2 separate regions of the Homo sapiens genome follow, and region 2 is linked to region 1. The links are contacts of gene promoters, found by promoter capture Hi-C in blood cells and fetal thymus (Javierre and others, 2016). All regions are on one chromosome and are shown on one strand. The core of a region is centred on a gene start or on the middle of the fragment in contact, and the rest is flanking DNA. Distances in the headings are between cores, read along the strand shown. Region 1 holds the start of BRPF1 (bromodomain and PHD finger containing 1). Region 2 overlaps NR2C2 (nuclear receptor subfamily 2 group C member 2).

What was found. The method cuts DNA at HindIII sites, captures the fragments that hold promoters and counts their contacts. A CHiCAGO score of 5 or more calls a contact.
Region 2: a contact is called between a fragment that was not itself captured here and the fragment with the promoter of BRPF1 in region 1, in 1 of 17 cell types (neutrophils). The highest score is 6.5, in neutrophils.

Annotation. Positions count from the first base shown.
Region 1 is chr3:9,730,181-9,733,713 of GRCh38, forward strand. It overlaps BRPF1 (bromodomain and PHD finger containing 1), which reads left to right and starts at 1,555. Exons shown (of 14, transcript NM_001003694.2): 1 at 1,555-1,958. RefSeq lists enhancers at 991-1,550, 2,111-2,670 and silencers at 1,014-1,373, 1,844-1,893, 1,904-2,033. The HindIII fragment of the contact is 5,381 bases long and covers 384-3,533 here.
Region 2 is chr3:14,952,970-14,956,502 of GRCh38, forward strand. All of the region lies in intron 1 of NR2C2 (nuclear receptor subfamily 2 group C member 2), which reads left to right. Among named protein-coding and RNA genes, the nearest start is that of FGD5-AS1, 6.3 kb to the left of the region's middle. The HindIII fragment of the contact is 8,101 bases long and covers 1-3,533 here.

The DNA of each region.
Region 1 (3,533 bases), core at 305-2,804:
TTCCTGACCACTAAAGGAGATAACTTAGTATAACTCTGCTTTGATCCATCTATTCTGAATTATTTTAATAAGGATAATAACAGCTAATATTTTCTTTGAACATTCACTACATGTCAAACCGTGTGCTAGGTGATTTACAAGCATCATCTCATTTAATTCTCACAACAACTCTGAGAACAGGTACTATATATTATTCCCACTTTACCCATAAGGAAACTGAGGCTCTGAGAAGATGAGTCATTTAAGATAATTCATCAGTTTGACTTCAGATCCCAAGATCTTAATCAGCAAACCTCTTCCTGGCATGTCGATTTTATTGGGATGGTTTTTAGAAAACATACATTTTATTGGGTCAAATGCAAAGTTTGCATTAAGAAGATAGAAGCTTTCAGATGCTTTGGGCTTTGTCCCAGAACCCTGGAAGACCTTTCACGCTCCTCTTTGATGACAAAACTGGAGAAGTATTGTTTAAGGATGTCTCCCCCTGCCATGCAAGTTCTCTGAAACCCTCAAGAACTAACAACAGAGTTTTCGAGCTCTGTTTTACAAATAAGGAACTTAAAGAACTGAACTTGCCCACGTTCACATTGCTAGGAGGTGACCCACTCACATTAAATCAGCTGTTTTGGCACCATGTTCCAATCAGCAACCCGCAGCACATCCCTGCCAACCCACAGATTTCCCACCGCTTTACCAGACAAGCCCTTTCACACCCACCGGCCCCAAACCAGCCCCTTCTCTCAGACCCATACCTTTTCTCTAGCACCTCTCCTTTACTTTTCCCAAGTTTCTTCCCTTTCCTTCAGTCACGCCCCGTTATCCCTAATCGGTCCTGCCCTTTCCCCACAGCTCCGCCCCTGCCTTACCAAGCCCCGCCTGCTCCCTTCAGCGTCGCATCGCTTTTTCCAACTTTGTTCTTTATTTCTAGTCCAGCTCCACTTTCCAGGCTCATCCAAAGCTCCGCCCTTTCTCTCGCGAGTACTCTTCTTCTGTTTAGCCCCACTTTTTACCCCGCTATTCTAACAGGCCCCCGCTGTGCGGTAGCCCCGCCCCCTCCCACAAGCCCCGCCCCACAGACCGGTCTAGTCTCCAGCCCCGCCCCGGTCCTACCCATAACTACCGGTCCCTTAGGCTCCAGCCCGCATCCCTCTTGCTCCCGGCCCTGCCCCCAGCCCCGCCCCGTGACTCTGGCCCCGCCTCACCGCCTTCCTCCGAGACCAAGGCCAGGTCCCTCCCGCAGCCGCGGCGCCAGCAGGAGGCAGGGAGCGGATAGGGAGGAGGCAGAGGGGGAGGGGAGAAGGGCGGGCTCCTCACGCCCAGCCCCGCGCTCACCGTCCGTGGTTGCAGATTCGCCACAAACCGCCCGACGACCCCAGATCCCGAGTACGGTGACTTCAGTCTCCAGAAACTCCACTCTAAGATGGGAGAGCTAGAGAAGCCCTGTGGGGTGTCCAGGGTCCTTTCTGAATCCCGGAGCACGGTCTTTCGAGCCTCAGCGGGCGGGCGGGGATCCGTGGCGAAAGTGCAGCTCAGTAGCGCCGCGGCGCCACGTTTACCCTGCGCAGACGCCGTCGCCGCCGCTGCTGCCGCCGCCGCTGCCACAGCCTTTGCCGCCACGGTCTCCGCCGCCGCTGTCCTCGCGCTGCCTCTGGGAGCCTCCATTGTTCCAGCAGCGCCCGGTCCCGAGACCGGGCATCTTGGGGGCTCGCGAAACGGGCGGCGGCCGACGGAGTTGAGACCCCAGGGCGCCGGCGGGACCAGGAGCGGCAGGGGTCAGCTCAGGAATCCCGGGGAGCCGGGACCAAAGCGTGGGGCGGCAGGGGGCCGGGGTGGCGAGGTCTACGGTCTCCGGAGTTGGGGCTCCCCCTTCCCGGCCCGACTTTCCCCGCCGACCTCCCCAAGTGGGGTCGGAGCCCCGGCGGGCGCCCCCGGCGATGAGCCCGGACTCGAGGTGGCCGGTGAGTGCGGGCCTGGGACCAGGGCGGGAGTGGCCGGCAGGGAAGGGGTAGGCTACGTTCGTGGGACGCGCACTGAGCCGCGTGGCCCGGGAACCTCTCTGGCAACTCCAGTTGGGAGAACTGACAGTGCATTGCTTCCCAGCAGGCATCCTGGGGCAACAGTGTATCTTTCGGGGCTGCCCGGGCTAGTGGCAGGCGGGGAGCCTTGTTTCACTTGTTACACTTCCACAAAGGGGAAACGCCGCCGCATCCGGAGAGTGGGCTGCGGGCACTGCCGGGGCCCAGCCCTATCCCTCCGGCCCCCGCCCCTTACTTCCTCCAGCCCCCTGAGCTTCAGGGGCAGATGCAGCCGCCATTCTCCTTGGGCCCTCCCCACGGGCTTTCTGGTCTAAGTTCTCGTCTCCCTCGCCTGTGCCTCTGCTGCCGGGTTCCAAGGGGAGATTGCTGATTCGCTGTGCTACTTTGGGAACCATTCACCCGGGACCCAGCTTGGAAAGAGGAGAGCTTGTTTGTGCTTCGGTTGGTTTATGTTTAAAGACACAGCCGCAGGTAGGAAATAGAAGAGTTGCAGTTGGACGTGTAGCGTTACTGATGTGAAAATCAGGAGCCGTTGACAGTGGAGCTGGAGCAGCCCACTTGCCTGGTTAAGGCACAGGTGGAGAGGCCAAGAGGGGTTATTTTGTCAGGGAGCTCATGATAGCCCTGCCTGGCTGGGATGGTGCCAAGCCCCTAGCTGAATGGTTGAACTCAACTAGGCCGAGAGAAATTGGGGCAGTCTCTGACCAAGCTGGGCTTCCTGAGGCCTGGTGCCATCTGCTGTCTACACTCACCCAGGAATGTTGGGGAGCGGGGAGGGAGGGCCCCTGCGGACCAGCATGGAGCTGAGCATGCCTAGATTGTCGCGTTCGTGTTTGTACCCTTAGGGCCTGGCACTTGGTAGTCACTCAGTTGATGTGTGAGTGGGTGAACAGCTCAAATGTAATACAAGCTGCTGTCACTGACTAAATGACCTCAGTTTTCACTTTGTTTCACAGTACATCTCCTACCCAGTACCAGGGCCAGGCTCCCCATAAAGACCTCAAAAGTAAATGAATTCTTTCTGTGATCCAGTGATTTCTGCAGGAGTCCAACGCTAAAGCATTAGCCACCCACCCATTCAGCTTTCTACATGGCCTTCATCCCATCTGAGCTCTCAGTCTGGTGATCCCCTCATTCAGCTATTCGTTCAACAGGTCATTCATTCGTTCGCCAAAAACTGAATGTCCAGTGCATGCTAGGTACTGGGGATACAGAGGTGGATAGGCTCTGGTACCCTTGCTACACAGCTCCCAGTCCAGGGGGGAGACAACTTTCAGTATGTCAAGTGCTGTGGTAGAGGTGAGAATGGAATGCTGTGGAAACAGCTCCCCATGGGAGAGTCAGAGAAGTTGTGTCAGAAGTGACATTTGAGCTGGTTTTTTGAAGAATGAGTAGGAGCCCACCAATCAGAAAGTATGGAGGGCATTCCAAATAGGGATCATTTTGCAGGAATGAGAGGTTATAACATTCAGGGAATGGCAAGATCCCCTGTGTAGA
Region 2 (3,533 bases), core at 356-2,855, 5.2 Mb after region 1:
GATCAGGGCATTGGCGTAGGCATTTGTTAAAGGTACAATAAATGCAGATGCAGACCCCTGGTACCTGGAAGTCTTAGAATAGAAGGATGGGAGGTGAATTGTTAAGGACAGAAAGGGAATAGGCTAGCTCAGACACTTAACTGTTTTTTCTGTGTTACCCTTGGACTCCAGTTGGCCTGTAATGATGAAAGTCAGCCTCAGAGGCAAGTGTGATTTTTTAGGGGCAATAAAAAGTACCTCCTTCACTGTAATAAGAGGCCTGAAGTCCTTTAATAGGAGGTGAAACTTTCTATTCCATAATTATTAACAGTTACCTCAAAGATTCTAATCCCTGAAATGTTAACATGTAGATGGAGAGGAATTTCATTCCAAGTGCCCAAGTGTAAAAGAATATTTCCCCCCTGTTTGCGTTAGTGAGAGGTGTGAGAAAAGGTCTTGGGGCCTGGAAAATGGGGTGACTGCTGCTGAAAAGTGAAGAGAAATGAGAGGCTGGTAGGGCTAGACTCAAGCCTGAAGGCTTCCTGGTTTTACAGGGAGCTGCTTTATTTACCTTTGTTGTTCATATGTTGATAAAAGCTATGCAGGGGAAAAAGTTTCCTACCTGACTGCCCACCCATGTTCCTTAAAAAGAAAGATTCACGTATGGCCAGGCGTGGTGGCTCACCCCTGTAATCCCAGCACTTTGGGAGGCCAAGGCAGGCGGATCATGAGGTCAGGAGTTCAAGACCAGCCTGGCCAACATAGTGAAACCCCATCTCTACTAACAATACAAAAAATTAGCTGGGCGTGGTGGCAGGCGCCTGTAATCCCAGCTACTCGGGAGGCTGAGGCAGGAGAATCACTTGAACCCGGGAGGTGGAGGCTGCAGTGAACCAAGATCACGCCACTGCACTCCAGCCTGGGCGACAGTGCGAGACTTCATCTCAAAAAAAAAAAAAAAAACAACTGAGGCTGGATGGCTCTTGAGAAGTTACACAATACTAGCGGGCTTCATGCTGCATTTCCCCCAGTGTATTTGTTGTATAGTGAATCTGATTAGGTATTATTTCTAGAACATTTTGGATATGTCATTTGTACCACACTCGTTCTTGTCCCCTGTCCCACCACTATGGTGTCTGTAATGATGCATCTTTTTATTAGGTTGATAAGATGACTAACCCTGGAATTGAAAAATCATTTTTTAATTGATTGCTTTACCAAGACTAAAAGCAGATGTCACAAAGTATATATCAGCTTTTAACTGGAAAGGCTAATAATTAGACTGTGTTGTTGACTTATTTAATATAATACAGATTTTTAAAAATAAAATAAATTTATAATATGTCTTTTCTAAAGAAATAAACAATGTACTTTCTCGAGAATAAAAATTAAAAATAGATAAAAGTAAAACAGTTAATTTTTAAAAATAGTAAAATTTTCAAACGAAGAAAAGAAAGCAGTACATCAAAAGGCATGTGTGAAAATGTTCATAGGAGCACTAATCATAAGGACTCCAAACTAGAAACAATCTAAGTGTTCATCAGCTATAGAATGGAGAAATAAATTGGGCATAGTCGTACATTAGAATACTGTACGACAGTGAAAATGGATTCACTTCTCATGGTTATTACAAAAATAATGTTGGGCAAAAGAAGCCAGACATACCAAAAAGTGTATTATAAACAGTGCAATAATATTATAAAGTAATGCCAGTAGTATAAAAGTCAGGAGAGGGAAGAGAAGTTATTGACTATGGGAAGGGGTGTGAGAGGGACTTTTGGGGGTATTGGTAATGTCTTGTTTTCTGATCTGAGTGGCATTTACATGTGTGTTCTGTGTGTTCAGTTAGTGAAAATTCATCAAACTGTTCATTTACGATTTGTGCCTTTTTTTGTTTTTTGAGATGGAGTCTCCCTCTGCCGCCCAGGCCGGAGTGCAGTGGTACGATCTTGGTTCACTGCAATCTCCGCCTCCCAGGTTCAAAGGATTCTCGTGCCACAGCCTCCCGAGTAGCTGGGACTACAGGCGTGTGCCACCATGCCCAGCTAATTTTTTGTATTTTAGTAGAGACAGGTTTTCACCATGTTGCCCAGGCTGGTCTTGAACTCCTGAGCTCAGGCAGTCCAGCCATCCCGGCCTCCTAAAGTGCTAGGATTACAGGCAGGAGCCACCGAGCCTGGCTGGTTTGTGCCCTTTTGTATCTGCGTGTTGTAGTTAAGTAAAAAGTTTTACTTAGTAAAATTGTTCTCACTATTTTAATTAATGTGATTATTGTGTAGGTTAAGTTTTAAGGGAAGAATGTGTTCAAAGTTCTAAAAGAACTGCCATGGTACTACCTGGGTGGAGCAGCCTCAGAAATTTCTGTTAGCAATACTGAAACATAAGTCACATATTACGACTTAGTGGTTGTGTATATCAGTTATTAAATGATCTAGCTTATTGATGTAAGCAATTTTTGTTCCCTTAGATAATTCTTTCCTGTCACTTTTTTTTTTCATTCTCTCCTTGACTTCCTTTTTTCTGGGAAATTATTTTGAAGGGCACTGTGATCTAGAGGGAATGTTGCGATTTTAGAGTCAAAGAGGCCTCAGTTGGAATCCTAGCTCCATCGCTTAGTAGCTGGATGATTTGAAACGAGTTACAAGTGCTGAGTCTCAGTTTTTTCCATCTTCATTGGTGAGCTAATATTACATACTCAGAAGGTATGCTAAGGATTAAATCATGCCTAGTTTGATTTAAAGCACATTGTGGATGTCAAGAGAATTTATCCTGCTTTCCTTCCATCCATCTACCCTGGCTCTTACTGATAGATATGAAGAAAGTCCACATCACCCTTACACTTGGGCTCTTGGTAGGATAAGAAAAAATCATCCACAGTATGTAGTGACTTTTTTAGGGGAGGTGTCAACACAGAAAATTGTAGAACTGCTCTGATACTATAAATATGTAAGAACTTCATTTATGTGAAAGCCACTTCTCTTCCCTACTAGTCACTCACCCAGCCTTGCTACTTCTACCATATACATATCATTGCTGCACTTTTTTACAGTTGCTTTGAATATGGAAGAAACAACTTTCCTATGGAGGGTCACAATGGAAAGGAAATTACCTGACCCTAAAGCTAAGTAAACTTGGAGTCTAAATAAATAATTGGCTTTCCATTGACAGGAAGTATACCTAAACTTAACCTTAGAGGCATCCCAGTGAGTATCTTTTCTGTTGATGAACATTTGTATTACACTAAACCTGCCACTTGAATTTCATTTTCTACTTTCAAGTCTTGATCTATGATTGCAAGTTTCAAGCTATGTATTTCTTATTTTTTATCCTCTCTCAGGCTATCTAAATCCTTCCATTTTAATTTTCCCATGAATATGAACAGACTTCTAACAATCAGAATAATTAGACTTATACTGAATGCCTTGTACCTATCAAGAGTTCTATGCCCAGTAGTATTTTGCAAGTAGTTATTAGGTATTGGTTTATTTTTAAATATTTGTAAGATTTTGTCCTAATTTAGCCCCATTGTTTTGCCCAGTTGTACAGTTTAACAG